Linked DNA regions of Homo sapiens: all the other regions are linked to region 2. Evidence: promoter capture Hi-C in 16 types of primary human blood cells and fetal thymus (Javierre and others, 2016). All regions are on one chromosome and are shown on one strand. The core of a region is centred on a gene start or on the middle of the fragment in contact, and the rest is flanking DNA. Distances in the headings are between cores, read along the strand shown. Region 1 overlaps LINC02735 (long intergenic non-protein coding RNA 2735). Region 2 holds the start of APLNR (apelin receptor). Region 3 has its middle 34 kb from the start of LINC02735. Region 4 holds the start of LINC02735 (long intergenic non-protein coding RNA 2735).

Evidence for each region. Contacts are between HindIII fragments. The CHiCAGO score rates a contact against its expected background, and 5 or more counts as called.
Region 1: a contact is called between a fragment that was not itself captured here and the fragment with the promoter of APLNR in region 2, in 4 of 17 cell types (M1 macrophages, endothelial precursors, M0 macrophages and 1 more). The highest score is 6.3, in M1 macrophages.
Region 3: a contact is called between a fragment that was not itself captured here and the fragment with the promoter of APLNR in region 2, in 1 of 17 cell types (M1 macrophages). The highest score is 5.0, in M1 macrophages.
Region 4: a contact is called between a fragment that was not itself captured here and the fragment with the promoter of APLNR in region 2, in 10 of 17 cell types (M0 macrophages, megakaryocytes, M1 macrophages and 7 more). The highest score is 13.2, in M0 macrophages.

What each region holds. Positions count from the first base shown.
Region 1 is chr11:56,860,388-56,865,159 of GRCh38, reverse strand. The region is part of intron 1 of LINC02735 (long intergenic non-protein coding RNA 2735); the gene reads right to left. Among named protein-coding and RNA genes, the nearest start is that of LINC02735, 14 kb to the right of the region's middle. The HindIII fragment of the contact is 421 bases long and covers 1,387-1,807 here.
Region 2 is chr11:57,236,000-57,240,785 of GRCh38, reverse strand. It overlaps APLNR (apelin receptor), which reads left to right and starts at 3,536. Exons shown (of 1, transcript NM_005161.6): 1 at 3,536-4,786. The coding sequence starts at 3,782. RefSeq lists enhancers at 1-220, 3,262-3,894. The HindIII fragment of the contact is 5,179 bases long and covers 67-4,786 here.
Region 3 is chr11:56,812,070-56,817,201 of GRCh38, reverse strand. No RefSeq gene overlaps it. Among named protein-coding and RNA genes, the nearest start is that of LINC02735, 34 kb to the left of the region's middle. The HindIII fragment of the contact is 3,147 bases long and covers 581-3,727 here.
Region 4 is chr11:56,844,384-56,849,182 of GRCh38, reverse strand. LINC02735 (long intergenic non-protein coding RNA 2735) reads right to left here and starts at 705. Exons shown (of 3, transcript NR_110137.1): 1 at 568-705. The HindIII fragment of the contact is 223 bases long and covers 2,397-2,619 here.

The DNA of each region.
Region 1 (4,772 bases), core at 348-2,847, 370 kb after region 2:
AACAGTAGGGCAGAGGAAGCAATCAGATCTATATTTGTCTCAGGTGAGCTCAGAGGGATGACTTTGAGTTCTGTCTGTTCTTTGTCCACAAGAAATTTCCTTCTGGGAAAATTGTGAGAAATGAATGTAGCTTCTTATCTTTGTAGCTATGTTATTTAGGAATAATATGGGAGGGAAGTTTGCCCTATGCAGTTTCCAGCTTGACTTTTCCCTCTGGCTTAGTGATTTTGGGGTCCCAAGATTTATTTTCCTATTACACTACTTTGTACCCTGGGCCAAGTCCAAATCACAATCTCCGTGATATGATGATAAACAAAATAAACTCTCCTCTCACAAGTAAAAATTTTAGAAGCATATCTTGGAGTCACATATTTGTTTGAAATAATGATGATAATGATCATGATAACAATAATAAAACATTATTAAATATAATAATAAAACATTAATACCTAAAAATTTATTAAGAATTCAAGACATTCCAGCACTACTTTAAAAATTAACTTCACCTCCACTAGAAAGTTAATTCTCACCACAATTTTATGAGGTAAATATAGAAAGTTTTAGTAACTTGCCCAAGTTTGCACAGCTTGCCAATGATATGGCTGGGAAGACTTTTTTTTGTATTATTCCATTTATAGTCACTACTTCACCTCTCAGCCATGAAACTTCCTTCTGCTACACATTCCTTAACTTCGTTATCATAACATACTTTGGGAGCCCCCTCACTCTAGCCAATCTAGAAAACTCCCTTGTATTCATTAAGACTCATTTAGGGAAATCTGTGAAATTCATTAAATTTCCCCTGGGTTTCCTTAGTACTTAGTGCATGTCTCTGTCACAGTAAATAATCATTACGTGTCTATACATTTGCCTCCTTCAGTAATCTGTGAGCTCCAAGAGAAACAACATGGTGCTTCTTTTTTTCTTTTTCTTATCCCGAAGATGTGGACCAGGTCAATGTCTAATAAATGTTTTATGAATGAATAATGAAAGAATGAAAAAATAACTCAATTACCTGAACAGAGCCAAAATTCAGACAAGAAGAAAACTCTGAGCAGCCCAAATGAATGGCATAGGATTCATGCTGTGAGGTGCACGGGTAGTCCTCAGAGAAGTGCAGTTGGAATGTATCAAATTGTCTATTCATCTCTTTCCAATGGAATTGCCCTAACCTCTTTCTAAGGACATGGTTCCATTGGAGCATCATGTTCTTATAATGGAACTCTTTCCTCCAGGCCACGGGCTGCCCCAGGAGACCTACTCAACCCATGTCAAGCCAGTGAATTTCTTTTGGAAGTAGTTATCATCATGAAGGGAGGAGATGTGAATCTGAGAGCTGTTGGCAGTGGTTACTTTCCACCACTTAGACCAGGAAGCCAAGAAGCTTGTCTGCAGCAAGTGTGAAAAGTGAGATGCCAGGAAAAAGAAGTCAAGTTTATAAATTCAGAAAAACTTCCTGGATAGAACTCTCATAGTACTCCAGTGACTGAGGTATATAGGTTCCCTGATAAAATGGCCGTATATATTATATTCACAATTATATCCCCAGCTGTAGTACTGTAGGCATTTTATAATTATTTGTTCAATGAATAAGTAAATAGGGTCTCAAGTGGAGGAAACAGTTAAATGAAAAAAAAGTGGCAGCTGTTCTGAATTATTTTGATCTTGGAAGATTTTATATTTCATGTAGGATTATAATTGACTGATTGTTGATTTCATCATTTTGACTTAGAAACTTTTGCTCTGAAAAATATGGCAGGAGTTCATTTGGGTGGATTAGATAATCATCAAAGTTACTTGAAAAGCTTGTATAAATGTCAGGTTCTGGATACCAGCCTGTGGAAATTCTGATTCAGTTAGTCTGGGGTTGGGTTCCAGAGTCTGCATTTTTCAAAGTGTTCCCCAGGTGATTCTGCTGAATAGCCATGTTCTTAGAGTTCCACAAATCCCCATACCCTGTGGCTCACTCATCTCCCAGTTCTAAGCTATTTATTGCATTGAGTATTTAGGTAACATCAATTTGTCATTTATTCAGTGACTACTTGTTACCAAATATATGTAAAAGACGTCAAAAATTGATGGCTTGCTCTGCTTTCAAAATTTCCTAACAGAAAAGCAGTGGCTACCTTTCTTAAATTAACAATAAAGCAATGTTTTCTTCACAATCAGAAATTTCATGGTATCATCTCTTCATAATGTAAGTAAAGTATGTGTGAAGTCACAAATTCTATACAATGAGAGAACTTGGTTTTACAAAAAAGCTATTCTTATTTCCCTAAATAGGAGTTAATTTATCCTGACCTATTCTGTCTGCTTCTCAGAGAGGTGGGGCATGGATATTGTCCAAGATAAAGTAGAAACTGTAACTTTTACCATAAAGGTCAAATGCACCACTGTGAATTGTGAGCTGAATTTGAAATTTGGATTTATATCTGGAGATCTTGGAAGTGATAGTACTGTTGACTGCCTTTTCAGAGGGTTGGTGGCTGGACTGGGATATGGCAAACATTGAAACACCCTGGGTTCTAGTCACCTTACTGAGCAGCTGGATGCACTACAAAGTTATTTCTCCTTTCTGGGTCTCCATATCTTTATCTTTCATTGAGACATTGTATCCAATGAAGTTGTTCTCAAGCTGGAGGACTTGGAAATCCCAAAAAATACTGAATTAGAAGTCAAAAGCGGTCACTTTGGATGTTCATTTGGGGTCAAGATATTCAAAACAACAAACATAAAAATTGAGCATCAAAATTACATGTCAGAACTTGATAACAAGGGTGGTAATCTTAATAGACACATTATTTTTACAATTTAAATAAAAATGGATTTTTTCTTAGAGTTGTTGAGATGCCAAGTTAAGAAACAATATATCTGAAGTTTCTTCCAGCCATGTCTGATTTTCCAGCTATGTCAAGTTCTTCAGAATGGGGCCAGGAGCCTGGCTGCTACCAGATCATCTTCAGGCAATCAGTCTCCTCCTGTTGACCATAGATAAAGTACACTTCTGAATTCTCCCTACTAGATATAAAGGTTAGGTCTACAGATAACAAGGTGTTTAAGAACTCTGATCTCCTGAGAACACATAATGTGCCAAATATCCTGCTAGGAATTATTGGGAGGTACACAAGAAAGGGAGAGTGTGTGGTCTCTGCCCACCTGTGGTTTGCCATCTGCCACCCTCTTGCATTTTCTGTGCTCCTACAACTTGCCAGGAGCTAGACTATGTGTAGAGTCACACGGAAGCAACTCCTTTTGCTTGGAGTACCCCACACACCTTGCCTTCTTGGAAACCCCTTGGTCATTTTTCAAAACTCAGTTTTCCATATCACTTTTATCTTATAATGATCACTCTTGGTAGGGCTGGAACTCCTTTGTATTCTTACCGTACCTGGGTATGGTGCGATTGTAGCTCTTGTCATACCTCATTTGTATCTTTCCTGAACTAGACCATGAATTCCTTATTTCTCAGTTTCCTAAACCTGCCACTAACTAGTGCTCAATACTTGCTTATAGAGGGAATCAATGTGTCAATGGCTAACTAAAACCCAGAGATGTTCAAATTCTATTCTGTCATCGATTCTCTGAGATGGAGGAGGCTGGGTGGGTGGGTGCAAGTTTCAGTTAAAATAACTCCTAGCTTCCCTTCCTTTTCATTTTAGCAATGCCAGGCCTGACATCTCCTTTCAGCATCATCCCTGATTACTCTCTCCCTCCCTAATTAGAAATGTCCTTAGGTATTTCATTCTAGGTGCATACTTTTTTTGTTTTTTGGATGTGCTGTTTTCAATCTCATGTCCTGTGCATCATCTGATGATGATGATCTGATGATAATTGCAGAGCCTGCAAAACAAATTCTCACAGAAGGGAAAAGGTGCCTTCTGAAGGTCTAATGAACCCTTCAGGTGACAAGATAAAGTCACAAACCTCCCTTTCATGCCTCTGCACACTGAGGCTCAATAACACATTCAGCTCTGTGGTTGGTCTGCTGATTCTTGTAGTTGTTGTTGTTACCGCATAACCTATAATGTTCTAAAATGTTAATTGCAATTTCTCCAGTTGTCTTCACAGCAGACCTGTAGCCTCATTTTGCAAATGAGATTGAGAATGGACAGGGACCCGTTCAAAGTTCCAGAGCTGGAAAGTGACTTGGGAATCTGACATATTTGGATCTGGCTTTCTAGCTGATGTTCTTTCTAATTTGGCACAGTGTCACTCAGCTATGACTAGTTTTATTGGATGTTTATTTGCTGTCCTTTCCCCTCTGTTTGGATATTTCATAAAGATATCTCTTTTCAATTCCTGACCTATTCTATATGGTCTGGTTCTAAAATGGAGGAGTTGAACACTAAGGATAACTCAGCCCTGTCCTTTCGTCAAATATGGAACTAAATCCTTTCTGTGCACCTAGAGATGTATTAGGCCCTTTAGGAGATATAAAGATAAATAGGTTAGTTTTGCCTTCAGAGAGCTCACACTCTATAATGGGAACAAAATAACTTCAGAATTCATGATGACACAAAGCAGTATGTTAACACTGCCATGAGAATGTCTATATGATCTGTAACAGGGGGTTGAAGGTGTAAGAATTCTCATTTGCTTGACATGGTCAATGAAGGCTTCATAAAGGAGACAACAAGGAATTAGACCATGAAAGATGGAGAAGCTTTCCAATGACATCAGTCAGGGGAGGACATGTGGGGACAGGTAACAAGATAAATAAAGACCTCCATTTGCGAAGATATAGAGCATGGAGTAGGAATGAGAAATGTTTT
Region 2 (4,786 bases), core at 2,287-4,786:
CAGCATTCCAGTGGGAACAGCTGAGGGGAGGGAGACAGGGACCTGATTTCAGGGACGCTTCAAGCTTGCTAGCTCCCTTCTCTCTGTATTTCTAGCTGCAAAGGGCACAGACATCTGCATCTTTCTGGGAGAATCATGGGAGAACTGGGATCACTAGGCGTCTCAAACTTGGTCTTTATCCTGGAATGTCCCAAGCAGTAATGTTTACTCGTAAAAGGGCCATCTATTATGACCTGACCTGAGCCAAGCTGGTCCCTGCACAACTCCAAGGTCCCCTTTGATAGGTAAAGATAGCTTACCACTGAAGAAGTCTGAGGTAGCCAAAGGTTAGCTATTTCCACCCAGGATATAATGTCAGGATATAATGAAACTATTATATCAGGATATGATGAATGAATCATGATATGATGAATGAATGTCAGGATATAATGAAAACCATTCTGCCATCTGCGCAGAACTTCTATTAGCCAAAAATGCAGGAGCAAGAGGCCCCAAGCAATTCCTACCCTGTGTACTGTGAGATGGATGGAGCCCCAGCTCTGGATCCTATTGGGTGTCCCAGCCCCCACTGTACAGAATGCCAAGATTCCAGGGGCAGAGTCCTGTTAGCTTTCTAGCTGGCACCAGGCAACCAGGAATTCTCTTTGGCAATGGCTAGAGCGAGGGTGGTTTCTGGATCAAGTCTATGGTGCTAACCCTAAGTGTACAGATTATTGCCTGGCAGGATTCTTATACCCTGTCTAATCAATGTGAGGTGTGTCTCTAAATAGTCAATCTATTTAAAATCTCACCCGGTAGAGCTTATTTTAAGGTAAATTACAGGTATCCTGGCATCGCCCTACATTTCTCTAATGCTTAACAGATGACACACCCCTCAGTTTAAAAAGGATTGGGCGTTTTTCTTTGGGAGCATAGTGGTTTAGTCCATGGGCTCGAGACAGCTTTGGTTCAAATTCTGGCTCTGACAATTACTGCTGGGTGATCTTGGCTAAACTGCTTCACCTCTGTGTGCCTCAGTTTCCTCATCTGTAAATTGAGGCTAATGAGAGCACCTGCCTCCTAATGTCATTTTGATGATTAAAAGAGATACTAATAAATATATGTAGAATGTATAAAATGTTTAGAAGACTGCCTGGCACACAATAAGTGGGCAACATGTAGTCCTCATGAGAAACACCAACATATTCATTACTCCACATTGCATTTAGGTGAAGGTCACAGGATCTTTCTAATCTCTCTCTGCAGCCTTCTCTCCTGTATCTCCCCACTGCACTCTAAGGCTTTTTCTATCTTTGCATTTTTTGTTTCCTCCTCCTGCCCCATCCTCTTGGTTCTTCTCCTGCCTTCTATTCTTGGCAAGCTCCTGTTTAAAGAACACAAACTCGGGGGCCAAAGACATGTTTTACTTATCATGGTCTGTGCTTTTTTTTGAAATGAAAATTGATTTCCAAAATTTACAAATATGAAAATTTCTTACAAAAATCCATAATTTGAAATTATCTTGGAAAAATCCTAAGACACAGTCATGCTGGGGTCCAGCTTTCTGCGTGGCAACCAGAGACTAGAGCTGAAGAGGCCTCCCTATGATGGAATGGGCACCCTCCAGTTTGCCACAGTCTTTACCATTCTCTGTTGTCTCAAACTACACTCTTGGCCTGTTTTTTTTTTTTTTTTTTGCAGGTATTTGAGTTTGAGTTCCTTGATCTCTGCATATGATTTTCTGATCCACTCTCCCTCCAGAAAATGGATTCCAGCTTTTGTAGTAACTTAAGACAAATATATATCGTGAGACAGGGTCTTGGCTGTGTTATTCAGGCTAGTCTTGAACTCCTGGGCTCAAGCAGTCTTCCTGCCTTGGCCTCCCAAAGTGCTGGGATTATAGGCATGAGCCACCTTGCCTGGCCAATTCCAGCTTTTGTAAGTCTTTTGCCTTGGAAGTGGCTAAGGCTCAGCTCCTGCTTTTGTTCCATCTCACTATTACCCAACGTCAGGTGGCTTCCCCAACTCTTCAAGGTTGTGGAAAGGGTGCGTATTTTTTAAAAAAAATCTTACGTCGTGCATCTTCCTTCCTTCCTAGAGGTCCTGGAGAGGTGATGAGCTGGGGCAAAGTGAGCGTCTACGGAACTTTCCCCACAGTATCCTCCAGTGACTGAGTCTTTCTCTAGAGACCCCCCTCCTCTAGCTCAACTTCCTGACCCCCTGTGGTCTTACAGAAACCTCTTGGTCCATGGAGGATAGTAAAAACCTGAGAACTGAAATGTATCCATGTTCTCACCACGTAGTAATTCTTACACTTGTTCTTCCATCTATGGATTCCCCTTTTCACTCACCTCCTACATCATCCATCCACTTACTCACTCAACAGCCATTCACCTGGCTGGGCGTGGTGGCTCATGCCTGTAATTTCAGCACTTTGGGAGGCCGAGGTGGGTGGATCATCTGAGGTCAGGAGTTTGAGACTAGCCTGGTCAATCCCCATCTCTACTAAAAATACAAAAAAATTAGCCTGCAATCCCAGCTACTAGGGAGGCTGAGGCGGGAGAATCGCTTGAACCCAGGAGGCAGAAGTTGCAGTGAGCCTAGACCAGCCTGGGCAACAAGAGTGAAACTCTGTCTCAACAAACAAACAAACAAACAAAACAGCCATTCACCTACGACATGCCAGGTACTGTATTATGTTCGTGTTTGGAGAAGAAGAAAAGCAAACAATCAACTGTAGCATAATTCACTTTATTACCTTGGGCAAAACATTGACCTTGTTGGGCCTTTGTTTCCTACAGATTTAATGACTTGTTTAGAGATAATTTTGTCCTGGGTTTCTTCCATCCTGTGACTGCCCTCAACCTTCTAAAGCATCCTGTGCCTTCCGCAAACTGCAAACTGCAGTCTACACTAGTGTAGGGGTATTTCTCTAGAAACCACAAAAGTTCTCAGAGGGAGGGTCAAAGCCAAGGGGTAGAGAAAGATGAAGCGAGAGGCAAAGTGGGAGAAGACCCTCCTGTGACACCTGGTCTGGGTGGGGGCTGGGGGTGCAGGAAGGGAGCCGAGGGGGCCAGACCTGCCTGCCAGGAGGACCTGCCAGATGCCCTGCCCATCCTGCGAAATCTTACACCCTCCTTGCTCCCTACCAGCCCTGGCTCCAGCTCAAGCTGGATTGCAATCTGCATAATGTGTCCCATTTAGATTGGATGGAAGGGGGTGAGAACAGGAGGGCGGAGAGCACTGAGGAGGGAGTGCCCTAAAGGGCAGGCAGGAAGTGGTGGCCAGAGGAAAGTGGAGGGATAGGGGCTGGGGTGAAGGTGGGTGGCAGCCAGAAAGGAGAGGCGGGGCCAGGAAAGCCGACTTGCAAAACCACAGATAATGTTCAGCCCAGCACAGTAGGGGTCAATTTGGTCCACTTGCTCAGTGACAAAAAGAAAAAAAAAGTGGGCTGTCACTAAAGATTTTGACTCACAAGAGAGGGGCTGGTCTGGAGGTGGGAGGAGGGAGTGACGAGTCAAGGAGGAGACAGGGACGCAGGAGGGTGCAAGGAAGTGTCTTAACTGAGACGGGGGTAAGGCAAGAGAGGGTGGAGGAAATTCTGCAGGAGACAGGCTTCCTCCAGGGTCTGGAGAACCCAGAGGCAGCTCCTCCTGAGTGCTGGGAAGGACTCTGGGCATCTTCAGCCCTTCTTACTCTCTGAGGCTCAAGCCAGAAATTCAGGCTGCTTGCAGAGTGGGTGACAGAGCCACGGAGCTGGTGTCCCTGGGACCCTCTGCCCGTCTTCTCTCCACTCCCCAGCATGGAGGAAGGTGGTGATTTTGACAACTACTATGGGGCAGACAACCAGTCTGAGTGTGAGTACACAGACTGGAAATCCTCGGGGGCCCTCATCCCTGCCATCTACATGTTGGTCTTCCTCCTGGGCACCACGGGCAACGGTCTGGTGCTCTGGACCGTGTTTCGGAGCAGCCGGGAGAAGAGGCGCTCAGCTGATATCTTCATTGCTAGCCTGGCGGTGGCTGACCTGACCTTCGTGGTGACGCTGCCCCTGTGGGCTACCTACACGTACCGGGACTATGACTGGCCCTTTGGGACCTTCTTCTGCAAGCTCAGCAGCTACCTCATCTTCGTCAACATGTACGCCAGCGTCTTCTGCCTCACCGGCCTCAGCTTCGACCGCTACCTGGCCATCGTGAGGCCAGTGGCCAATGCTCGGCTGAGGCTGCGGGTCAGCGGGGCCGTGGCCACGGCAGTTCTTTGGGTGCTGGCCGCCCTCCTGGCCATGCCTGTCATGGTGTTACGCACCACCGGGGACTTGGAGAACACCACTAAGGTGCAGTGCTACATGGACTACTCCATGGTGGCCACTGTGAGCTCAGAGTGGGCCTGGGAGGTGGGCCTTGGGGTCTCGTCCACCACCGTGGGCTTTGTGGTGCCCTTCACCATCATGCTGACCTGTTACTTCTTCATCGCCCAAACCATCGCTGGCCACTTCCGCAAGGAACGCATCGAGGGCCTGCGGAAGCGGCGCCGGCTGCTCAGCATCATCGTGGTGCTGGTGGTGACCTTTGCCCTGTGCTGGATGCCCTACCACCTGGTGAAGACGCTGTACATGCTGGGCAGCCTGCTGCACTGGCCCTGTGACTTTGACCTCTTCCTCATGAACATCTTCCCCTACTGCACCTGCATCAGCTACGTCAACAGCTGCCTCAACCCCTTCCTCTATGCCTTTTTCGACCCCCGCTTCCGCCAGGCCTGCACCTCCATGCTCTGCTGTGGCCAGAGCAGGTGCGCAGGCACCTCC
Region 3 (5,132 bases), core at 905-3,404, 420 kb after region 2:
GTTCCTGGGCCAAATGCATTGCTGGTGTTGAGAGTTGTCTCTGCTGCTTTACAACCCATTTTGAACTCGAATAAGATAATCATTCAAATTTGCTTTTTGTCTAACATCATTTCCACAGTCTAAAATAAATATAAAATAAATGGCAAGTAATAAGTCATTAGCAAAAAAAACATAAAGTGAGACATGTCCATTAGAATGATGTATAATATAAACACATTTACTTAAGAATGCATTCAAATGTCAAACGGCAGATTCCCACTGAGTCTTGTAATAAGCTCCACACTGCTTCTTTTCCCACTACTGCAACCTTCAACATCATAACATCTGTTGTACATCACGTGGCTCAAGTGGCAGGGCTGCTTGGACTGCAACTGGGATCTGCTGCAGAGCCCTTTCCTGCAGCAGATTCCAGTTAACACTAGCAGCCTTTGTGTCACTTGGTATAGCGGCTGGAACAATATTCTTAGCTATGGAATGTGTTGCTTCCAAAACCCAGGGTCCTACCAAGACACTGCCTCTGTGATCTTCACTTCAAAGGAGTTATTCTAGTATTCCCCTAAGCACTGAACCTGCAAAAGCTTTCCCTAAGTGTCCAAATTCCCAAATCTTAATATGGTTTATCTCATACCCCCTGTAGCACATGTGCTTTACCAAGATCTCCAATATTCTAGTAACAACTTGTGTAACTTGCTCTGTCATTATGATGTTATCAATGTAATAAATCAGTATGATGTTTTGAGAAATGCTTAGGTGGACAATATCTTCATTCTATATTTCCTTGGGCAGGAAAACTAACATAGTCTTGAGACATAATTGAAAGTGAATACAGTATCGTTCATCTCACATGAATGTAAGTCATTTCTGATCCTCTTTTCTAACCGCAACAGAAAATAATTCATTCCCCAAATCACTGACTGTATCATATACTGGAGACCTTTTAAATGATTCTGTGTTTAGTATAACACTGCTATTGGGGCTACTACTTGGCTGAACTCGAGGCAGTCTATATTCATTCTCTAGAAAACATATGGGTCTTCAGGGTCCAGGCTGATGAATTAAATAGAGAGGGAAAAGAGACAACTGCTGCTACATTTTTTATGTCTTTAGTGGTGGCATTAATTTCCAATTCAAGTGTTCTGGAATCCTATCATCTCCAGTGACTCCAGGAAGCCTAGATCCATAGCAGCATCTCAAACGACTGAGCTTTTCACCAAGCTGGTGGCTCTCTAGTGCTTATCTTTATTGCTTTAGTGGAAAAAGTGTCCTTTGGGTCTTCTCAGGTATACATGCATCTGTAGCTTCTTTGGTCTTGTGTAATAAATCCTTTTTAAGCATCTCTACCTCTTTGAGCATTTGGGCCTTTTCTTCAACACTCTGCATGGCAATAATGGCATCCCTACCTCTTTTACTGCATGCTGTTATTTTTTCCAAAATTCAAAGAGCCATCCTAACAGTGCATTAGAATCAGCTTCTGGTGTCCTGCCTGCAAGCTAATTTCTGAGTCACTGAGGTTCTCCTATGTCAGAAAATTCTCCCCTACTCAGCTTTTTATTTCCCCAGTCCTAGAATTACCCTCAAGATATTAATATATGCTTTTATATGTTCTCCTTGTTCTTGTGGCACATTTTAGCCAATTCTTTGAACTCCTGGTGGGTAATCATTTTCCTCTTAAAGTAGAGCCAATTCTCCTTAGTCATCACACCTCATCATTCTAAGCCTTGACCCTGGTTGCTAAGTCTAAGAGCCATGAGGGGAAGAAAGACTACATCCTGAGAAAAGAAATTACTCTCTTGTGAATGCTCTGACTCATGTGAGGCCTCTTTATTCTCTCTAAGCAAAGGAAGGCTGCTGCCTTCTGGCAAAGGGAACAGGACTACTTCTGCAGGTTCAAGGTTTCAAGGGTACTGGAAAATCTCAAGCACATACACACCGATGTCTTAATCCCAATTCTCAGTGTTCAGCTTTTCCCCTGTCAGAGTTCTGTGGCTCTAAAGAGGCTTTGAATTTAGCTTTTTTATTATTACTTCTTGCAACCTGGTACAAGATGTGTAACATCTGTAATATACAAATCTGATTGAGTTCTCATGCAGTCTGGGTAGAGTTTTCATGCAGTCTGGTCTCTAATTGAAGATGAATGTTTTTTGAACATTGCCTTTCTGACTTTGACACCATGCCTGAGTTGAAAATTGTCCTATTTGAGTCTGTTTTCATCATTGAGCATATTAAAGACATTTAATGTAAATTAATTTCATAGTTTAATAATTATTGTTGCTCCCCATATTTCTCATGTTGCATAAGTCAACATACATCTCTCACTTGTACCCTATCCCAATTCACTGCAGGTGAGTCTTGGTAACTGAGATGCTAAGGCATGCCCATGGTTATTACCATTCTGTTCCATCAGCAATGGGTATTGTTGCCATCTTTCCAGTGAGTAATTTGATTCCAGAATTACATCCCAATAATCTGCACCTTAAGGGTCACTCTGGTACGAGGCATCTTAGTTTGAGTTTTCCAGGAAACAAACCTTGAGGAAAAGATTCAAGTGCAAGCATTGGTTGATAATAGTTTATTTGGGAAGCAACTAAAACATTGACAGGGAAGTTAGAAGTGAGATAATGAATGGAAAGAAATTAATACTCTCTGGAAGAGTTTCCTATATTTATTTTGGGAGTGATGGTATAAAGGTGTATATTCCATTTGATAATTTAGAAACATGGTAATCAGTTCTTATCTCTTCTAGTGGTTACCTTTTGGATTCTATGTAGTATACAGCTATTTATTGAACTATTTAAAGTGTTAATGAGAAGATCACTGCAGTGGTCAACTGAGCACTGCCAGTGCTGGAGATCTCTGGGTGCCAGTGCATAAAACACAAGAATCAGAGTATTCCCACCTGAGAGAGCCTGAGTCAAGAAATGTTTACATAAGCCAGTCTTTGGTTGACAGTTGCTCCTGGAAAGTGTTCATTTTCTGCCACTTCCAGCTTGTTAGGCAGGTAGAAAAGCGGCGGAAAGATAAATCCTCACACACACACACAAATCCACACACAAAAACCTTTGGTGTTAGCAGTTGAAGATGGAACTGAAGTGCACTGAAATGATAAGAGAGAGGCACAAACAGAGTTTGCTATACTGATCATTGCAACAAATGGAAATAGTTTTCATCTATACTTTATCTAGGGACAGTCATTTAGTCAGGAGCTGATTTTAACCTTCTTATTCTCTGCTAGTAATGGGAGGAACAGTTGCATCATGCACTGACCCTGCCCAGTGAGAAAGTGACCACATTTCATTTTAAATGACTGTGTGTGGGTCAGGAGAATATACAAATCTGATTCAAATAAACTGCTGGGAATATCAATATTCATATTTTGGCTTAAAGAAATGAGTTTCTTCTTGGTCAGTGGTTGGAGAATAGTATTATTACTTATGTTTTTGCAAAAGGGTGGCAGTAAAGAGAATTTACAAGTTTGGAGAAGACATTCATAAAATGGAAGTTTTGGTCCTAAGTTGTGAGTCTTTTCTGTGAATGGATATACTGTACATGCTATTTTATATCCTGATTTCTATCCATTGATATAAATACCTTTCATTTGATTAAAAACTTCATACAACTTATTACATTAAAGTATTTTTATATTTTAAAGTGTGTTTTTATAATACAGTATGATTGTACATGGTACAAAATTCAAATAGTACACTAGGAAATGTAAACAAGATAAGCTTCCTATCCATTCCAAACAGAATTTATGTTGTATTTTTTGAGAACTTTTTTGCATATAGAAACATGTATAAGTGTATGTGCATGTGTAGATTCCGAAGAGTTACACAAATGAGAGAGTGGACTTCCATTGAAGTTATAGCATGCTTGAATGATCTATTTCACCAATACTTGCTTATGGAAATAAAGGGAAGTGACAGCGGAAAGAAGAAGAGGAGTGGAGGAGGGGATTGAGGCCAAAGGAGACTCTGACCACATACAGGTATTGCACAGAATATTTTCAGATTGTTTGGTTTACACTGAGTGCTATAGCTCCATTTTTGTGTAGCAGAAAAAAATGAGATTTCAATAATTCTTTTCGCATTTTTTGTTTTTATTATGTATTATCCTTATCAATGGATGGAGACTAGCTAATTTGGCCATGAGAAGAAAATTGCTGAGACACAACTGCCTTCAGAGGAGATATATGCCTCTCTATTTATAAGTACCATTCCCCTGAGATCTCTGTAGTTAACTTTACTGGGTCTACTAGAGGATGAAGACGAGTGAAGGAAAAATATCCAACCACCCAAAAAAAACTTTATAATGACAACAGTGTGATTGCTTAGAAGTTCCTGTATAAAAAATGTATCAGTTGAAAGCAACTGGGACGTTTTATTCATTTCACAGTGTTCTTTTTTCTTTCTCATTTCTCTTTAAAAGGAAAATGACATACATTCAAAAAGATTCCAGTCTGAAGCACAACTATTGCCTGCATAACAAAAACATCTTAACTTTTTCTGCACATTATTATTCTCTTACAGGTTAAAAAGAAAGCAATTTTTATTGTATTAGAACTCTCTAATGGTAAAAAGTGCAAGAATTTAACATTTTTCTTTTATATTCCTATGATTCTTCAAAGTATTAACTTTGAATATATTTGAGTTATTTTCTAAAAAGTGCTCAATCTGAAATAAATTACATTGACTATTTGGCTTTGCACAATAGGGAGAAAATAACTGGTTTGTTTACTATATAGAGAGACTAAGAAAAAAGCTAATATTAATTGCTACCAATTCTATGATAGGCTTTAATATTTATGGAGGTATGATCTTTTAATTTTATGAGTAATATTCATTTGAAGTTGTAAAAGAAAGCATTAATCTTAATTATAGTTCATTTCATCTTAAAATGAAACCATACATTGTGAATCTTGTTTTCATCACATAATTATTAGAAACCAATATTTATTTTCTTTGAAGTACTATTATGAACCTTGATTATTTTGTATAGATACTTCCTTAAAAGTCCTGCTTAAAGTTAACATCTAAAACAGTTATGCCAATGAAGTCTTACTCCAGGTAATATCTGTATCTAAAAGATGAGTGCCCACCATTCTGGTAGCTTTGTTTTGGTGCTGTTCATCCCGT
Region 4 (4,799 bases), core at 1,259-3,758, 390 kb after region 2:
AACTCAGTGGTAAACTTCTACTCAATAGTAAACTTGGATTAGACAAGCTCACTAGAACATTTTACTATGTGTAATTTAAGAATGTGTATTGCCAAGTTTCTGACTTTGTCCTGAAGTACATTTCTACTAAGAACCATTTGTTTTCCTGTGCTAATCCTGGCATGAAAAGTAAATCACCTTTTCAGATTTCACTACTGTTGTATCTCTCACTTGACAAGTAGCTTTTTCAGCGTTGGCAATGCTCCTGAAATAGTTCTATTAAATTTTTCTCCTATTTCTGTGTAAGCAGCATTTGAATTTATTCAACTTGTAGATATAAGCTTTTACTAAATTTGATTTTCCATTTTTACATTACAGCAAATCTTTTGTTTTCAATCTGAGAACGATTACTTTTACTCTTTATTATTCTTTGCTTCCATCTCCAATACCAGAAGTTGGCTTTCTTTTCAAGGCCATTTAAAAAATCACCCCCCCCCACCCAAAAAGAGAAAAAGAGAGGTTCATAAGAGAGGTTATGTGAGTTATCATATTCACACTGAATATAAAACAACAAAGCCTCATACTTACGGGCAAATGGTTAGGCTCACTCATCAGCTCAGTGATTCCCCCTTGTATAGAATGTAAGATAAAAATTTATGATACAAGAAAATTAAAGATGCCTGCAGAGGAAGTCTGGCAAGATTGCCTCCAGGTCCTTAGTATACTAAGGGAGTATGTGTCTAAAGACCCTAAACCTTAAAATATGATGTGCTCATCCTCACAAACTGCCAAATGACAACGGGCCTTTTATTCCTATAAACTTCCATTATCCTGCTACTGATGTAAAGATGAATTTCATGTTAATCATTAATGTCTCTATTTGTGTCAGGAGCCTCCCTGTCTAGACATTTTTTAGCTGGAGGGATAGCGGCTGCAAATTAGCCATGCAGTCACGCAGCACAGAAGTTCCGTTAGCGTAATGAACCTCTTGGGACTGGGATTGAGAACTGCAGGGACAGCAGCATCTCTGTGTGTCCCCTGCTGCCACTCGCCATTTTGGTAGAGTCAATACGATGCCTTTTTAATCACAATTTTGTTTCAACACATTTTGATCTGTTAATGGGCATTCATATGTCTTTGGTGAATATCTTGCTTTTTAAAAACATTTTCAAAGGAAGAAACTGTTTTTTACATTTACCAAAAGCCTATTAAGTGCAAATTCAAAGTGCCTATTTTCCACCTGTCCTCTGTTATTTTCTAGCACTCGCAACTTACAGGAGCCACTCACTTTTCTACTTTAGAAAAATTTTTCTTCTCATTTCTGCCCATACCTTCCCTGATCTCTCTTGTCTTTTGGTATTTCTCCCCTCCATCTGATGAGCTGCTCAGTTGTCATACATTTTCTGGTTTCAGCTCCCCGGAGAGGGCGGTTTATTTTCCACTCCGATTTTCTTGCAAGGGTCTGTTCATCCCACTTCTGACCTTTCTTTTTTGGAGACAGAAAAAGGAGGCATAGCATTAAATTGACCACGGCTAAATGTTTTGCCTGGACTGGGGAGCTGAGAAGAGAAGGCTGTAAATCTAGATATGAGGACTGTTTTTGTTCATCACACTCTTGCCATGATCAATCTTTGTGTATTCTTGTGGAGTGACATCCATGCCTAGTTTGCTTCTGTAGCCTTTTATTGAATTGCGAGCTTATCCCTGATGATTCTGGAATTGCTGGGCAGAGTCTGGCTGAAAACATTATCGTCCCTGCAAAAACCCTGGGCTGCGAAATAGTTTTGTTTAAGAGTAGATTTGTTAGAATTAGGCTTCCCTCTCCATGACCAGATTCTTTGCTATGAGCAGGAAATGAAATAAAGAGGAAAGCAGCCCTAGATATTTATCTCTAACTCCACTGTATTGGGATTTAGTCCATGTTTTCTGGGCTTCCCGATCAGAGGGTGAATGTAAATCACTGCGTAACTCTGACCATTCCTTTCTGTGCTGTGTGGGAGGAAACCTGGGGCATGCGGTCTCCAACATGCACTCAGGCTGGCTGTGGTGGGGATGGCATTCACTCATTAACACTTGCAAGGCCCTCCTTGAGGTTTGCTTCTCAGTTCTGCATCCTGTTGTACATGAGATTCACCTTCTGTGTTCCCAAGTCATGTTTACATTCAAGTAGCATTTGGCTCCTTGGCATAGGGATAATTCCCACCCTTATTTAATGAGTCCTGACTATATTGCTGAATCAAAAACTCAGCTTACTTGCTTATGAACTTCCAAGCATTATTGTTTTTGTGGTGGGAAAAAAGACGTGCTGGAGTGCTATAGTGGTTTTTCAAGTCAGGACCTGAATTGTTAAACTGTCATCCAAATCCTAGTTGTAGTCCACCCTGATATACATTGTTTCTAGGACAGTGAGTCAAGCTTTTAGAGAAGCAGCAATTTTAATGGATTCAAGTCCATCAACAGCCCTCAGGAGAAGGCTTGCAAAATATCCCCGAGATATCTCTGGATATGTGTGTCTTTGTGCTGCCTGCTCTGTGTTCCTCCCTTGACTCAAAGTCCTTTCCATTTCTACTGCTGGAGAGTTTACCATGCAAATCCTGCAATCTGGGTAGAAAGCAATTTATGCAAGTAGGCTCCAAAGCTTGGTATGAGGCCAATGCCACACGAGCAGGCGAGGCTCAGAGTGTCCAGTCTTAACCATTGCAAAAGATCAAAAGTGTGTCTGGAAGTGGTGGGTTCTTGGTCTCACTGACTTCAAGTATGAAGCTGCGGACCCTTGCGGCGAGTGTTACAGTTCTTAAAGATGGTGTGTCCAGAGTTTCTTCCTTCTGGTGGGTTCGTGGTCTCACTGGCTTCAGGAGTGAAGCTGCAGACCTTTGCGGTGAGTGTTACAGCTCTTAAAGGCGCGTTTCGGGAGTTGTTCGTCCCTCCTGGTGGGTTCGTGGTCTCGCTGGCTTCACAAGTGAAGCTGCAGACCTTCCCGGTGAGTGTTACAGCTCATAAAGGTGGCGTGGACCCTAAGAGTGAGCAGCAGCAAATTTATTGCAAAGAGCAAAAGAACAAATCTTCCACAGTGGGGAAGGGGACCCAGCGGCAGTGGGTTGCCACTGCTGGCTCTGGCAGCCTGCTTTTACTCCCTTATCTGGCCCCACCCACATCCTGCTGATTGGTCCATTTTACAGAGAGCTGATTGGTCCATTTTGGCAGGGCACTGATTGGTGCATTTACAATCCCTGAGCTAGACACAAAAGTTCTCCAAGTCCCCACTAGATTAGCTAGACACAGAGCACTGATTGGTGCATTTACAAACCTTGAGCTAGACACAGGGTGCTGATTGGTGTGTTTATAAATCTTGAGCTGCACACAGAGTGCTGATTGGTGTATTTACAATCCCTCAGCTAGACATAAAGGTTCTCCAAGTCCCCACTAGATTAGCCAGACACAGAACATTGATTGGTGCATTTACAAACCTTGAGCTAGACACAGAGTGCTGATTGATGCATTCACAATCCCCTAGTCTTACATAAAGGTTCTCCAAGTCCCCACTAGACTCAGGAGCCCAGCTGGCTTTACCTAGTGGATCCCACAGGGGGCTGCAGGTGGAGCTGCCTGCCAGTCCAGCGCCATGTGCCAGCACTAGTCAGCCCTTGGGCAGTCATGGGAGTGGGTGCCTTAGAGCAGGGGGCGGTGCTCATCGGGGAGGCTCGGCCCGGCAGGAGCCCACTGCAGGGGAGGCTCTGGCCTGGCGGGCTGCAGGTCCCGAGCCCTGCCCTGCAAGGAGGCAGCTGAGGCCCAGCAAGAATTGGAGCACAGTGCTGGCAGGCTGGCATTGCTGGGGGACCCAGAGCACCCTCCGCAGCTGCTGGCCCAGGTGCTAAGCCCCTCACTGCCGGGGGCTGGCGGAGATGGCTGGCTTCTCCAAGTGCGGGGCCGCCAAGCCCACGCCCACCCAGAACTCGTGCTGGCCCACGATTGCTGCACGCAGCCTGGGTTCCCGCCCGCGCCTCTCCCTCCACACCTCCCCCTCCACACCTCCCCTTAAGCAGAGGGAGCTGGCTCTGGCCTCGGCCAGCCCAGAGAGGGGCCCCCACAGCGCAGTGGCGGGCTGAAGGGCTCCTAGAGCATGGCCAGAGCAGACACCGAGGCTGAGGAGGCGCTGAGAGCGAGTGAGGGCTGTGAGGGCTGCCAGCATGCTGTCACCTCTCAAAAGGTTTCATCTGTAGCAGGGACAGAAACAGTTACATCCCGTTTGCACCTGGGAGCAGCACAGTTATTGAGGCTGGAGAGAGAACTCACTAACTCCAGCAACAGACATAAGAGTAGTCAGCCATGAGTTGGGTATTGGTGATTCTCACAACTAACTCTGGCTCCAGGAGAAAGAGCAGGAATCAGTCTCAATTGAAGCTGGAGTTCAAGAAGATTTCAGACACATTCTGAGTCCCGATAAAGGCTGAAAGGGAAATATTTGAATGCGGGGGAAGGTAGGGATGAAGAGTGGAAATGGAGCCAAATATACTGTTTCTGTCTTTGTTTTAACTGTTTAATTCTTAATTGTCTTCTTCTGGTTTGAGGAAGCGCTGTTATATACATAAATACAAGATTAATCTTAGCTGGTCTACTGCAATCCTATGTTTATTTCCAGGGATGCTTGGAGCCATTGTTGTCTGGAGGGAGGACTGACTTATTTCCAGAGATTCCTGGAGACACTGCTGGAACCTTAGCCAAATCAGAATAAGCTCAACTAACTGGTGACAAATATTCCTGTGCTAGGACCTGAGACAGGCCAAGTGAGAGATCTGTAGTAGTTTATTAGCTTTGTTCAT